Linked DNA regions of Homo sapiens: all the other regions are linked to region 3. The links are contacts of gene promoters, found by promoter capture Hi-C in human tissues and cell types (Jung and others, 2019). All regions are on one chromosome and are shown on one strand. The core of a region is centred on a gene start or on the middle of the fragment in contact, and the rest is flanking DNA. Distances in the headings are between cores, read along the strand shown.

Region 1 (4,417 bases), core at 356-2,855, 200 kb after region 3:
CCCACTGTCAATTTTATCTGGAGTCTCCCAGCCAAAAACCTTCTATTTTACCTTCTCCGGAGAATGAGCTCTGCTTTTCTCCCAAGAGAGGGAAGGAATCTTGGAGACTGTTTGTTCAAAACACTTAGAACCAACCATTCTGATTTTAACCTTACCTTCATGCTTCCAGAGGTACCTAGCACCAGTAATTCCTGGGCCTTCAGGAGTTCTACAGTGTAAAATGAGCTGCTTCTCGCTTCTCCTCACTGCCAGTTTAGGATTTAGCTTCTTGGGTCTGCTAAGTCATCCATCTCTTTTTCAGTTTCCAAAAGTCTGTGGCTGGGATCTCTTCTGATCTCTTTGTGGTATCTTTTTCCAAATCTTTTTCCAGGAATGTAAACATATATTTGAAGGTCTGCTTTTTCTTCTACTCTAACAAATATAGATGTTGACCGCATTCAGTCTAGTGGCAATTCCACTGTTCCTTGTGCCTTGGAAAATGTAGGGCCCCTCAATGTATGTGTATTATAATAGCATTTGTGTCTCTTAATGTGTCAATTCTGACTTAAATGAGGGGTTACCAAAGACTGACAGTATAGTATATAAAAGTAAGCCTCATTCATGAACTCATGAACTTTGTTTTTTTGTTTTGTTTTGTTTCTTTGTTTTTGAGACAGAATCTTGCTCTGTTGTGCAGGCTGGAGTGCAATGGCGTGATCTCAGTTCACTGCAACCTCTGCCTCCCGGGTTCAAGCAATTCTCCTGCCTCAGCCTCCCGAGTAGGCTGGGATTACAGGTGCCCACCACCACACCTGGCTAATTTTTTGTATTTTTAGTAGAGACGGGGTTTCACCATGTTGGCCAGGCCGGTCCCAAACTCCTGACCTCAGGTGATCTGCCTGCCTCAGCCTCCCAAAGTGCTGGGATTACAGGCATGAGCCACCGTGCCCGGCCTCATTCATGAACTTTGACTTCATCTAAATACAGTACAGTAGAAGTGCAAATCCTTCAGCTGATTTGATTATTTTCCCCACTGCACTCAGCTTCTAGGTGAGAGAAACAAATTCAAAAGTAACAACCGGGAATTTAGTTAAATTTAAAAATAAATATTCTGGTATGTGTTCTGGGGCTGAAGAGATGTGGGGCCACATTCTACACTTTCTGTATCTAAATGACAAAAAGACATTGCAAATGATGACCTGACGGCACTAAAATATATTGTATCAAATAAACATTAAATTATGTTCTATCTTTACTTAGTAAAGTGGAAACTTAGACATTTCAGAAGAGGTTTTAGCAGTGAGAGTAGACATGAAGGTATTTCAGGTTAGCTGTAAGACATTCACCAGAATGTTCTAATTCCCTAAGTTATTCTAGCTTTATGGCACAGAAGTAAGTAAATGAACAGTTGTGCAGAATATTTAACTAAGGAGTGTGCTTAGTTAGAAGAAGCTGAGTCTACAGAATTGTAGGCTTGAGCCTACATTCAACACAGCAAACTATTTTTCACCCAGAATCTGTTTTAGTGATTGCTTTGCAGTTGCTGCCTCTAATGAAACTTCAGAATCATAATAAATCATTGAAGCATTCTTGTATGGAAAACTAATACTTCACATGACAACTTTAAAAAATCCCCAGAAAACACTCTTGAGACAGATCTTTCACTCTGGGCTCTGGGGGACACAAACGAATATGTCTTTTTCCTCGAGGGTCTCACAATTTCATCAGGGAGAAAGATATTACAGTAGTCCCCCCAGTTCACGGTTTCACTTCCCATGGTTTCAGTTACCTGCAGTCAACCACGGTTTGAAAATATTAAATGGAAAATTCCAGACATAAACAATTCATAAGTTTTAAATTGTGTGCCCTTCTGAATAGTGTGGTGAAATCTCACACCTTCCCACTCCATCCCGCCCAGGATGTGAATCATCCCTTTGTCCAGCGTATCCACGCTGTACATGCTACCCGTCGGTTAGTCATCGACATCATCTGCTCCTGACATCTGACCATCAAAATCGTCATGGCTCCATGACCCAGGATCACCTGAAGCAGATGATCCTCTTTCTAATGTAGCACCAGAAGGTAAATAATAGCCTAACACTACATACATCACAACACCTACGTCATTCATTTCACTTTCTCTCATCATGTAGGCATTTTTATCATCTCACGTCATTGCAAGAAGGGTAAGTACATTGTAATAAGATACTTAAGAGAGAGAGATCACATTCAAATAACTTTTATTACAGTATACTGTTATAGTTGTTGTGTTTTATTATTAGTTGTTTTTACTTTCTTACGGTGCCTGATTTATAAATTAAACTTTATCATAATTATATATGTATAGGACAAAACATGGTATATATAGGGTTTGGTACTATCCATGGTTTCAGGCATCCACTGGAGGGCTTGGAATTTAAGACCCCAGAGGCTAAGGAGGGACCACCTAATATACAAATATGAGTATAAATTGGGAGGGTGCATGCTGTGTTAGTGATAGGAATGTTAATGGCATTTCTTTAGTTGTAATATAGAGGAGATAAGAAAAGCCACCTACCTGATTCCTCAGGGATCTAGAACTAGAAATACCATTTGACCCAGCCATCCCATTACTGGATATATACCCAAAGGATTATAAGTCATGCTTCTATAAAGACACATGCACACATATGTTTATTGCAGCATTATTCACAATAGCAAAGACTTGGAACCAACCCAAATGTCCATCAACGATAGACTGGATTAAGAAAATGTGGCACATATACACCATGGAATACTATGCAGCCATAAAAAAGGATGAGTTCATGTCCTTTGTAGGGACATGGATGAAGCTGGAAACCATCATTCTAAGCAAACTATTGCAAGGACAAAAAACCAAACACTGCATGTTCTCACTCATAGGTGGGAATTGAACAATGAGAACACTTGGACACAGGAAGGGGAACATCACACACTGGGTCCTGTTGTGGGATTGGGGGAGCGGGGAGGGATAGCATTAGGAGATATACCTAATGTAAATGACAAGTTAATGGGTGCAGCACACCAACATGGCACATGTATACATATGTAACAAACCTGCATGTTGTGCACATGTACCCTAGAACTTAAAGTATAATAATAAAAAAAAGATAATAATAATTTTGCAAGAGGGAAAAATAAACCTGTGCTTCAAAAATTAAAAAAAAAAACAAAGGAGAGCCACCTACCTACCTCAAGAGGCAGGTGGAGTCACCCAACTAAAGGAGAAATAAATCGAAGTCATTCTTGCTTTTGTTTCTTAGCTCATCCCTAGGTCTTTGGTGGTAGCAACTCAGGGGAGTAGTTTAGATACAGAAAGTTAGAATAGTGGCAGCTCCAATGAGTATATTTTAATATATAGTTTGGGTTTCCCAAATTTCAAGATCATATTTCATATATATAAAGCATATTTTATATACATGTACATATTAATCAGGTTTCTTCTGTTGACTGAAACCCATCTTAAAACACTTTAAGCAAGAAAAAAATTTTTATTGACCTACGTGATTGACAAAGTCATTGGTAGAATGAGTCAGATATGAATGGATCTGGATGCTTAGATAATGTCAGCAAAAATTTATTTATCTCCTGGCTCTGCTTTCCTCTGTGTTGACTTGACTTTTAGTCAGACTTTGTCCATGTGATGGGAATTATGGCCAACTTGAGTCTGTGGCCCATACAGAGTTTTCATATTGGAAGATTAGAGAAGCTTCAGTCTTAGCGCCCATATATATAAAAAAAAGTCTGGAGGGAACCCTGACTGCCTACTTTGTGGACCAGTAATGATAGCAAGAGGATGACTGATCAGGCCTTGATCACATGGGATGAATGAAAAGCAGTTCCTTAGCGAAAAGGTGCACTAGGAATGGAGAGACAGTAAGTGTTGTTACAGACTTGGAACAACTCAGTTTGGCTTAATTTATGCCAGTAAACAATGAAATATATCTGTTTCTTGAGTTCAGGTTGTATACATAGTAAGAGTCACTGACTTTGACATAGGTGGAGGATTGGATTTGGGAATATTATGCATTTATATATAAACTATCCCATCTTCTAGGAATTTTCCATCATCAACAACCCTACTCATGAAACTATGTTACTAATTGGAGACCCAGTTCCTGTTTTTTTTTTGTTTTTTTTTGAGATGGAGTCTTGCTCTGTCGCCCAGGCTGGAGTGCAGTGGTGCCATCTTGGCTCACTGCAAGCTCCGCCTCCTGGGTTCACGCCATTCTCCTGCCTCAGCCTCCCGAATAGCTGGGACTACAGGCAGCCGCCACCACGACCGACTAATTTTTTGTATTTTTAGTAGAGACGGGGTTTCACTGTGTTAGCCAGGATGATCTCGATCTCCTGACCTCGTGATCCGCCACCTTGGCCTCCCAAAGTGCTGGGATTACAGGCGTGAGCCACGGCGCCCGGC
Region 2 (4,835 bases), core at 364-2,863, 130 kb after region 3:
TGCACATGATGATTTCGTTCAGGGAAATGATTCTTAATCTGAAAATAAGTAGACTTAATAGGTCAAAGAATGTGGATGTTTTTATGGCTTGACACATATTGCCAAGTTGCTTTTCATAAAAGCTGTACTAATTTACAATATCCCCCATACCCTAGGGTGTGATGTGCCTATTTCATTTTCTTAGCAGCTTTAGGAACTGTCATTAAAAGAATATATATTTTTGAAATTATTGCATATAAAATGTATCTCATTTAAATATATGAATATCTTCTGTGAGGAAGGTCATTATAATGATACATCCTTTGAGTTTCTGAATGCATTATAAAAATTGATGACCAGATAGATCTCTTGGAGTAATATGATCCTCAAGTGAACCATGAGCATAAAAATATGTTGCATTTTTATATTTTTTATTGGAATTTTACATTTATTTGCTACTAATAATAAACCTCATGCTGTTTCTTTACAGGAAATGAGAGTTAAGTCCATTTTTGCATCTGAGCATTTCTCAATAGTGTCCTTTGGAATTTACTTTTGGTGTTTAATTTGACATTGAATTTGGAATTGGTAGGAAAGAAAACGGCTTTCTTACCTTCCCTGTGTGAATTTTCCATATGAACTTAAGGCAGGGGTTCACTCGGATCGATAGTTTTTAAACTGGAATGTGCATCACAGTCACCTAGAGTACTGAAGACACAGATTCCCGGGGCCCAGCCCCAGCATTTCTGATTTAGTAGTTCTAGGGTAAGAAAATGTGATGCCGAGGCTCCCAGCCAAATACACACGAGAGTTTTTGAAAAAAGACGGTGTACCCAGATTGAATAGACAAACACCAATTTGGTTGGATACATTAGCATGATGTGCTTCTGTCTTCCTTGCTGTGGTTCTCTTAGGGCCATTGCACTGCATACAGAAGTCTGTGTGAAGAGTGCACTCCGGAGCTGTGTGGGGTTTGTGCTGGGTCTGTGGGAGGCAGTGAAGTGGAATCACTAACATTCCAGAGTCTGACGTCATACTCTCTGACTCGATGACTTACATCAGTTTCGTTATTTAAAAAATAATAATATCTACTTTAAAGGGTTATGGTGATTAAATGAGATCGTATATGTAAAGCATCTCATGTGTGTCTGGCATATAGAAAGTGCTTTGGTATGGTTTCCTTTCCACGGAAAATGGGTGATGAAGGCCACCCAGGAGCTTGCAGATCACAGTGGCCGTCTTCTGCCTCTTGTTTTGCTACCTCTTGGCCCTAGTACATTTGTTTCCCCTCTTCACTGCCCACAGGAAGGCTCTGTGGACATACTCTTGTTTCACTGTTACTGGCTTTGATTATTTTGTGATGGAATCCAGGGTTAAAATGTGTCAAAAACCATTTGTATCTTGTAGAAAAATCCTTGCTGACCAAGTTGTGCCTCTTATGGGGTGGGGACTAGGACATACTTGTTAGAATAAGCTTATATTTGGTGCACTTACTTTGAAAAAAGAACCTCTTCTAATGAATCTTTGAGTCAGCCAGGGAGCTGCTTGTGCTTCTGCTCCTAAGTGCAATGGGGCTTGTGTATGGAAACCATGACAACTCCTATTTTTGTCAGCAACTCAATATCCAACATGTTTCATGACGTTAATTACCTACTTTTGTGTGTATTAAGGTTTGCATAAGAGGATAAATCATATTAGGGCCAATTTTTTGTATTCATTAATTTCAGTTTTTTTGTTTGTTTTAACATTTAGGACAATGACTGGGGGCAGGAATATGGAGGTGGGGTGGGAGGGAAGAATTATTTTCCCCCTGACTTCCTGGAATTTCATGTCCCTGATTTAGAGATCCAGAACAGAGGAGAGTAGTCAACTAACCTCATGACAAAATAAGTTGAAGGCTGCAAAACTTTATTGGCTGCTGTTTACTGACTAGTAGTCTCTTTTCCTTGACACACTTCTAAAAGCAGTCTTTCACCAAGAGAAATATCTGTATCCTAAACCTTGTAACAGCCACAACATTCAGTGAATGATACATTTTTCTGAAGAAGCCTTTCTTCATAGCTACCAAATGTTTGGAACTCTTGTGGTGCTCCTCTCTTTCTCGATTTTGGAGGTATGCAAGCTCTAAGGCTGTCTTGTTCATAGTTTAACCCAGGGAATAGCCATGCAGCATCTCTAGGCTTTTTGCCCTCTCCTTTGACAACTTACAGTAATATTGACACATGCTTTTAGTAGGGTCCAACTACACAGTAATCTATAAACCATTTACTTTTGCTGTGTTACATCGATGAGAATTCCAACAATAGAAATTAATTTTATAATTTTAACAGATTCCTGAGAATGCAATTAGTTTGGACTTTGAGTAATGTACATGGCTCCGTAAGCCCATGAATTACAATGGGCTAGAGGGGCAGGACACAGCTGTCACAGCATGTACTTTACCCAGCATGGGACAAGGCTGTCTTTCCAACTCCTGTTTTCAGGAAGAAGTGCCTGCCATGAGTTACAGGAATGCCTGAGGTACTGATTCTCATAACCCTCTGGCAGTGTGGCCGGGCCAAGCGGCCAGAACTCGGGCTGTCATCCCCTCTGCCATGAACAGCCTCATCCATTTATTCATTAGTCATGTTTTATCTGTGCCGTGGCATGAGAAATATCTCGAAGCCCTCTTGTGAGGTATGTTAGGTGAAGTAACCCAAATATTGGATATACCTTTTTGAATCATGTCTCACCAGGAAGAATGATGCCTTTCTGTGAACTCAGTGTTTCCCAATTCATTCATACTGCCCTCATCATTTTTTTCCATATCCAAATGCTACTTTGTGCCATCATTTACAGAATCTTTTCCTTCAAATTGGCTAACTCTTTTCAAAGTTAATTTTGTTTTGAAAGGAAATTATTATCACTGCTGGAAATGGAAAACCAGTATCACATGGCATAAAATGGAAGATAACTATGAAAATAAATATGTAACTAATGAGATGAAAAAGTTTAGTCCATGAACCACATCAAATTTTCTCACGTGCCACACCTGAAGGAAACACTGTATTCACTTATAGTGCTCTCAGATGCCAAATATGGGCCATTTTCTTTTTTTCCCTCTCTAAAATAGCTTTACTTCTAATGCTCTGTCCTCTGAAGGATTTCAGCGCTTCTGTAGGAGTTAATTGTTAAAAATAGCTCTTTGTATGGATATACATGCCAGAGACTCTGTCCTCATTACCTGGATATCTGATGTGACTACCCAAGTTGGAGGATTATGAAGAGAGTTTGTAATGAGAAGTAGGCACACTGTGGCATGAGATGCAAGGAGAGAGAGAAATGTCTTTCATTATCCCATGGGTGGCTTGTAAGGGAGAATTCTAGAATATAAACAGAAAATTGGATTCTAGTTTAACTTTGCCATTAATTAGCTGTGAACTTGAAAAGTACTTTTTCCAATGTGACCCTCAATTTCTTTTGAAGGAAAGGAAGGATGGAATTCTCATGGCTCTAACTTCCCATCAGTTCCTCTTTCCCTTACCTTTGGCTAATTCAAAGCATAGCCAGGTCCACAGTTTCTTATCTGCAACTGAGAAGTCCCCAAAACTTTGAAACTCGAAAGCTTTTTCATAACTTATTTGACAGAACACTTGACCTGAACTCATGTGATAGTCAAACATGACCTGAATGGACGTGTGTCAGTGTATAACCTTTATTTATTCCATCTAGTGTGACTGGTCATATATTTTGCTGAAGAAATATATTTGATCATGGGGATACTCCTTAGACTTTGCTGGGGATGTTACATAAAATATAGGGTATGCTATTACCTTTATAAAATGTAAAAAGTTCCAAATTTGGCAAATGCATCTAACCTTGAGAGTTTTGAAAAAGGATTATGGACATATATAATCAACATTTATTTGTGTATCTAGTGTCTGTAATACACTAGGTGTTGTGTTAGGCTCTGGGGAAGCACTTGGGCAAAAAATCCCCAGAATATCCGATTTAAAGGTGCTCACATTCTTGTTGAAGAGTCAAATTATTATAAATAAATAGATCAAGTCACTGTGGTTGAGGTATACAGGAAAGTGACTGAGTATGGGGGTGAGGGCACTGAACTTTGTCTAGGCCCCTGTGTTGTGGTAGCAGGATGGGACAGTCTTCTCAGAAGGTGAGAAGCATGAATTGAGTCATCTGTGGGTTGAATAAGAACCTAGTTGGACAAGCTTGGGAGGATGTGAGGTGCAGGTGGGAATGAGAAATAAAACTTGACCACGATGACAGTTGGTATGCCAGACAAAAGGTAGGCTGAAGGATCCCATAAAGGTGCCCTGTTGATGGAACTACAAGTAATTCTGGTGTGGCTGATGTCCAGGTATGTGAAGGACAGTGGTGGGGAATGGACTTTGGTGGGGAGGGAGTGGGCTCCCATGGACGGCACTGATGGAAAACATGCAGAGGAGGGGCACGGTGAACTCCTTTTTCAGCTTTCTCCTACAGATCTCACTGAGGGCAGTGGGATAGGGTGGAGGTTGGCAGGGGAGGACTGATGCAGAGAGACCTGCGGGTCCCACATGCAGCTGTCAAGCGGAAAGAAGATGGCTGTCTAGTTCAGGACCTCGGGGGCAAGATCTTGAGGAAGGACTTGTTTCTGGACATTTGAGAGGCTACTGGCGTTTCATGCTTTTCAAAGTGCATGTCTAGGACATATTTGATCTGCACGTTGGCTTTGTGGTGTGTGCTTTAAAGGTATTGGAAAACTAAGGCCTGGCAGCTAAGGGGTTTACTCAGAGCCATATAGCAAACTAATGGGAGGGATATTGGTTGATAAAGATAGGCTTACCCCAAAAAAGAGAAAACTTTCAACTAGA
Region 3 (4,689 bases), core at 228-2,727:
CCATGAATGTACATCATTGAGCTTCACAAGCTTTCACGTTTGTAATCTCATTTGAACTGCACAACCACCTCACGAGACAACCTGTATTCCCTTCTTAGGTTAAAAATGTGCCCCAGTTCAAAACAGTTTGTAAGTGGCAGAGCTGACACTTCAGCCAAGTGACAATGAGGGCCCTGTTACATCATTCTATAGAGCAGGGATACATATAGGTGCTCTTGCCTTGATTGGTACTGAACTTGCCTCTCCTGCTCCTCACCAATCATACAGGTACAAAGCTCTCTTTATGAAAAAAATGCTCCCACCTACTCCATCCTTTTGCTTACAGCTGGGGATTCTAGTTTTTTCACGTATATATGCCTTGTATTTCTAATTAGATTGTAAACTCCCAACCTGCAGGGACCAGATCTTCCATTTCCTTTGCAACCTTTTGCAGTACTGCAGTCACCCAATAAATGCCCTCTGCATGAATGAACCTGTAGAGATAAAAATACTTTATGGCATTCCCATTTATAGGTTTCATGTTTTTATTCTGCTTTGTGATAGGACTGTACATTATAAGCTTCTAGAGGGCAGAGAAAATGGCTTAGTGCTTTCCTTTACACTCAGCAGGAACCATGCAAAATTTGATCCTTGCATGCCTTTTTGATGCTCTGGGTAATATTAGCACACTGGGGTGTTTTTGTGTATCTAAGGACCGAGGTTATCAGACTCTCTGCAGCGGAGAATGTTCCTGCATTTCCACTGTAAGCTCCCATGGCGCCTAGGACAGGGCTAGATCACTGCAGAAGCCCCTCCATGCTTATTTCTGTTACTAAGGAAGCCAAAGGCGAACATGGCAAGCTCTGTCATAACCCTAGACCTTGCAAGGAAATGAGCAAAGTGGAAGGGGATCTGAAGGCAGGTCAGAGATGGCCTGGATGAGAATGCTAAGGCTTCTCTCTGAGAATCCAGCCCAAGTCTGACATGCAGGGCTCGAGTAGGTGGCCGCCCGCAGTCGCCGGGCCCGGGATGCCCGCCCGTCCGCCCGCCTGCCCCGCGCGCCCTCGGGAGCTGTCCAGACGGCCCCGCCCGCGCCTACCTGGGCACTCACCCGTGCCGCGCGGCCTCTTCTCCTCCCACCCCGGCCACAGGAGCCCAGCTCGGGCCTGCCCCGCCGCCTCCGAGGAGCCCCGCTGGCGGCGCGCTCATAGCTTCCACCCGGGCCAAGCGACCGGCCAGACAGCGCCAGGCGCGCCGGGGGCGGCGCGGTCAGGCTCGGCGGGGCTCGGCGGGCTCGCCCTCGGCCGGGCGCCTGCAGGGGGCGCGGGGACGGCCCCGCCCCGCCGCCTCCTCTCTCCCCTCCCGGCTCCCTGGATCCGCGCCGGGAGGAAATGATGTGTTGCTGCCTGGTTAATCACAGCTCCAGACACTCATTGGCCGAGCGCTCCGCAGCCACTTCCTCCTCCTCCTCCTCCCGCTCCTCCCGCTCCGGCTCCTGCTCTTTGCAGCCGCCGCCGCCGCCGCAGCCTCCCCCTCGGCGCAGGGGGAACTTTTCTACTCTCTGTGACGGTCTCCCCCGCCGCCCCCGGGGGCAAGCCCAGCTGGTCCGCCCGCCCCGCCCGCGGTCGTGCTCCCAGCCCGAGCCTCTGCGCCTCGGGAAGTTTATTCTGCCCGCCCTCCTCCCCTTCCTCCTCCTCTTCACCCCGCCTCCCCGCCCTCCCCCGGCTCTTTCCCCCGGGTGGCTGCCGCTGCCGCCGCTGCCGCTGCCAGCCTGCTCCTCGGCCAGCCGCGCCGGCCCCAGGGCCGGGAAGCTCCCGGCCCCACGCACCGCTCCGCTGCAGCCACCGCAGCCGCCGCCGCTCTGGGCCGGCCCTCGGCCCCCGGCTCCCGGCCCCGCAGAGTTCCGGGCTCCCTCGCCGGCTGCACCGCCCCGCCCCGCCCCGCGCCGCCCCGCGCCGCGCCGACCTGCAGCGCCCGGCTGCCTCGCACTCCGCCTCCCCCGGCTCAGCCCCCGGCCGCGGCGGGACCCGAGGTGAGCGCAGGTCGCCGGCCGCGCCTGCTGGAGCCGGGAGGACTGAGGGAGGAGGTAGCCTAGCGGGAGAAGAGGCAGGGATCGGGGGTGGCAGGGTGGGCGTCTGCGGTGCCTCCCCCTCGCTTTCATTCCTTTCTCCCCCAAGCTTGATCCCCTCTCCGTGGGGGAAGCAGCCGCGGAACAAAACTGTCTTGCTTTGGGCCTGAACTGCTGGTGGGATATGGGGGGTGGGGGGGCAGAGGCGTGGAGCGGGGGTCTCAGGTTTGTATTGGGGTGTGTGTGAGTGCGTGTGTGTGTGTGTGTGTGTTGTGAACTCCTTCAGGGTGTGCGACTCTGACTTGTAAATCGATCTGGCCGCGGGGCCACGGGGCTTACCTTCCTAGCTGAGCTTGTAGAGAGTAAGGAGATAGATAGGCGAATTTCCCCCACCCTCAAAATATCCATCTCTTCCAAGAGGAATTTTCTGCTGGAGAGACAGCCAATAAACTCTGCTCAACTCCCTCCCTCCCTCGGTTCTTCCTAGCTGCAGTTTCAAAAAGCTTCAAAGCCAGGAATGTGGGATTCATCTTCCGATCCCCAGAAGGCAAATGTGGTTACAGATGTTGCACGGTACTTTGCCAAGTTTAAAACCCTTCCTTCAACACTGTAACCAAAACAGTGAGGCTAGAACCTCGGGCGCACTAAGAAGAGATGTGGGCCTCTGGGGCCGCTGGATTCAGTAACTTCCGTCGGGTTCTAGACTGGCTCGGCTCTGTCCAGTTTGTGCCAGATAGTCTCCCACCCCCTCCCCACCCCTCCTTTCCCCTGGAGATTTGAACGCTGCTTGCATGGGAGAAAAGCTACTTAGAGAAGAAAACGTTCCACTTAGTAACAGAAGAAAAGTCTTGGTTAAAAAGTTGTCATGAATTTGGCTTTTGGAGAGAGGCAGCAAGGTAATACAATGGACTTGTCAATTTTATTGGGCTTTTCTTTCTTTTTTGAGGGATGTATGATAAGAGTTAGATGATGGGCAAAGGGGCCCGTTCCATACATGTTTTTACATATTTTTGAGAAGAGGCCCATGAATTGAGACATAACCCAGTGGTTTTAAAGAATCCTGTCCCAGAGATGCAGATTGCTCTGACAGCCCAAGGGAAGGCGGTGGCAAAAAATAGACACCACCTCCCTTTTCCCCAAAAAAATTCTTCCTGGAAAGGTGGTGTTAAGAAATTTCAGAGATGGGCTGATCCAAGTGGCGGGCCTTAAATGGAAACACTATAGTATGTCCTGGCACTTGTCTCTGGAGGTGGGTTGCTGGCCAGGGGCCCAGGCTTGGGCAGCCAGCAGACACTAGACTTGTGCTGACCTCAGACATCGGCCTCGCCATGCAGCTTCATAGTGTGCAGACTGCTTAAGTTTGAAATATGGGCCTCATCCATTTCACTGATGGGGACATAGGGGTCAGGAGGTTATCTTATGCCTGGATGGGACCTCGATCACTTATTTTATGATTCACTTGTTTTTATTTTCTGTCTTGGAATTTTAAAAAATGGAATTCTTTTGAAGCTGAAATCTAGGCCTTAAGTTGATGTAACTGGGTGTTGGATAATAGCATTTCTGCTATTACCCCTTATGCAGGTACTCACAGGTGGTGAATGATGGATAGATAAATTCTGGATAGGTGACAAAGACTAAGGATTGGGATGATTATAGATTGGGTTCATGCCCTCCTTTTCCAGCTGTGTTGTTGAGTTTTACTTGAAATGGAGAGGGTGGTTTTAAATAAAACTTGATTTAGATAGTAGTCTTACAACTTTTGTACCTTGGAAGAGAGTGATCATTTGAATTCTAGCAAGTTTGTTGTTATCTGTGAGGAATTTAAAGGAATATTAAGGATTCAGAGTAAAGATGCCATATTCAGGAATGTAATGTATTAATTTCAGAAGTGAGGAACTTAATTTGATTAATAGATTTGTAACGAATTTTTTTCAAAGTAGTGATTTGCCAGTTTTCTTCATGTGTCCAAGGAAGGTATAACAGAGATTGAGTCAGGAGATAGAGGTTATGCCTCTATCTTGCCCTAGATTGGACTGAACTAGTCCCATGATTGTCATGATAGGCTTCTAGGTAATTCTCAGGCTTGGATTGAGTAGTCCAGTCTTCTGAGGGAGGGGGGACAGGACAGAAATGGATTTGAAAAATGATTCTGCTCTTCAAGGTCATGAGGTGAAGATGGAATCAATGCTGGGGCTGGGAGCTGTAGTCTGTGGCTTGTTCTGCTCTTGGATCTCTGCATCTTGATTTATTTTTATGTGAAGCGATCTCATGCCCAACTCAGTAGGAATTCTGGAGAAGCAAACCACTGATGGTGGCAAAACTCTTTGATATGTTTGGGTGGCTTTAATGACAGGATAGTTTAGGGGTGCTGGATATGTGCTAGGCACTGGGCTCAGCTCTTCACAGGTACTTTTTCATGACATTTCCACAAACACCATATGTCTTATTATTATTTTACCGTCCTACAATAAGAAATTGAGGCTTGGCAAATTTCAGTGGTAGAATGGGGATTTGAACCAGAGGTCTGCAGGACTTCAGAACTCATGTTCTTGGCCACTTTTGCCAGTGATTGTCAAAGTTCATTCACTCACATACTGTCTTCCTGAGTTTACCATGGCTGAGTCCCACTTACTCTATTAATA

What was found. The method cuts DNA at HindIII sites, captures the fragments that hold promoters and counts their contacts. A contact is called where the count stands out against the background at its distance.
Region 1: a fragment that was not itself captured here is called in contact with the fragment with the promoter of ACVR1 in region 3 in 1 of the 25 tissues and cell types used here (mesenchymal stem cells).
Region 2: a fragment that was not itself captured here is called in contact with the fragment with the promoter of ACVR1 in region 3 in 1 of the 25 tissues and cell types used here (H1 embryonic stem cells).

The regions. Positions count from the first base shown.
Region 1 is chr2:157,669,873-157,674,289 of GRCh38, reverse strand. No RefSeq gene overlaps it. Among named protein-coding and RNA genes, the nearest start is that of ACVR1C, 43 kb to the right of the region's middle. The HindIII fragment of the contact is 5,534 bases long and covers 1-4,372 here.
Region 2 is chr2:157,742,553-157,747,387 of GRCh38, reverse strand. The region is part of intron 9 of ACVR1 (activin A receptor type 1); the gene reads left to right. Among named protein-coding and RNA genes, the nearest start is that of ACVR1C, 120 kb to the right of the region's middle. The HindIII fragment of the contact is 4,548 bases long and covers 1-3,887 here.
Region 3 is chr2:157,873,118-157,877,806 of GRCh38, reverse strand. It overlaps ACVR1 (activin A receptor type 1), which reads left to right and starts at 1,477. Exons shown (of 11, transcript NM_001111067.4): 1 at 1,477-2,011. It overlaps LOC105373714 (a long non-coding RNA gene), which reads right to left and starts at 1,223. Exons shown (of 2, transcript XR_923518.3): 1 at 1,091-1,223. RefSeq lists silencers at 916-1,105, 1,126-1,365, 1,426-1,645, 1,656-1,705, 1,796-2,005 and an enhancer at 1,236-1,530. The HindIII fragment of the contact is 2,058 bases long and covers 296-2,353 here.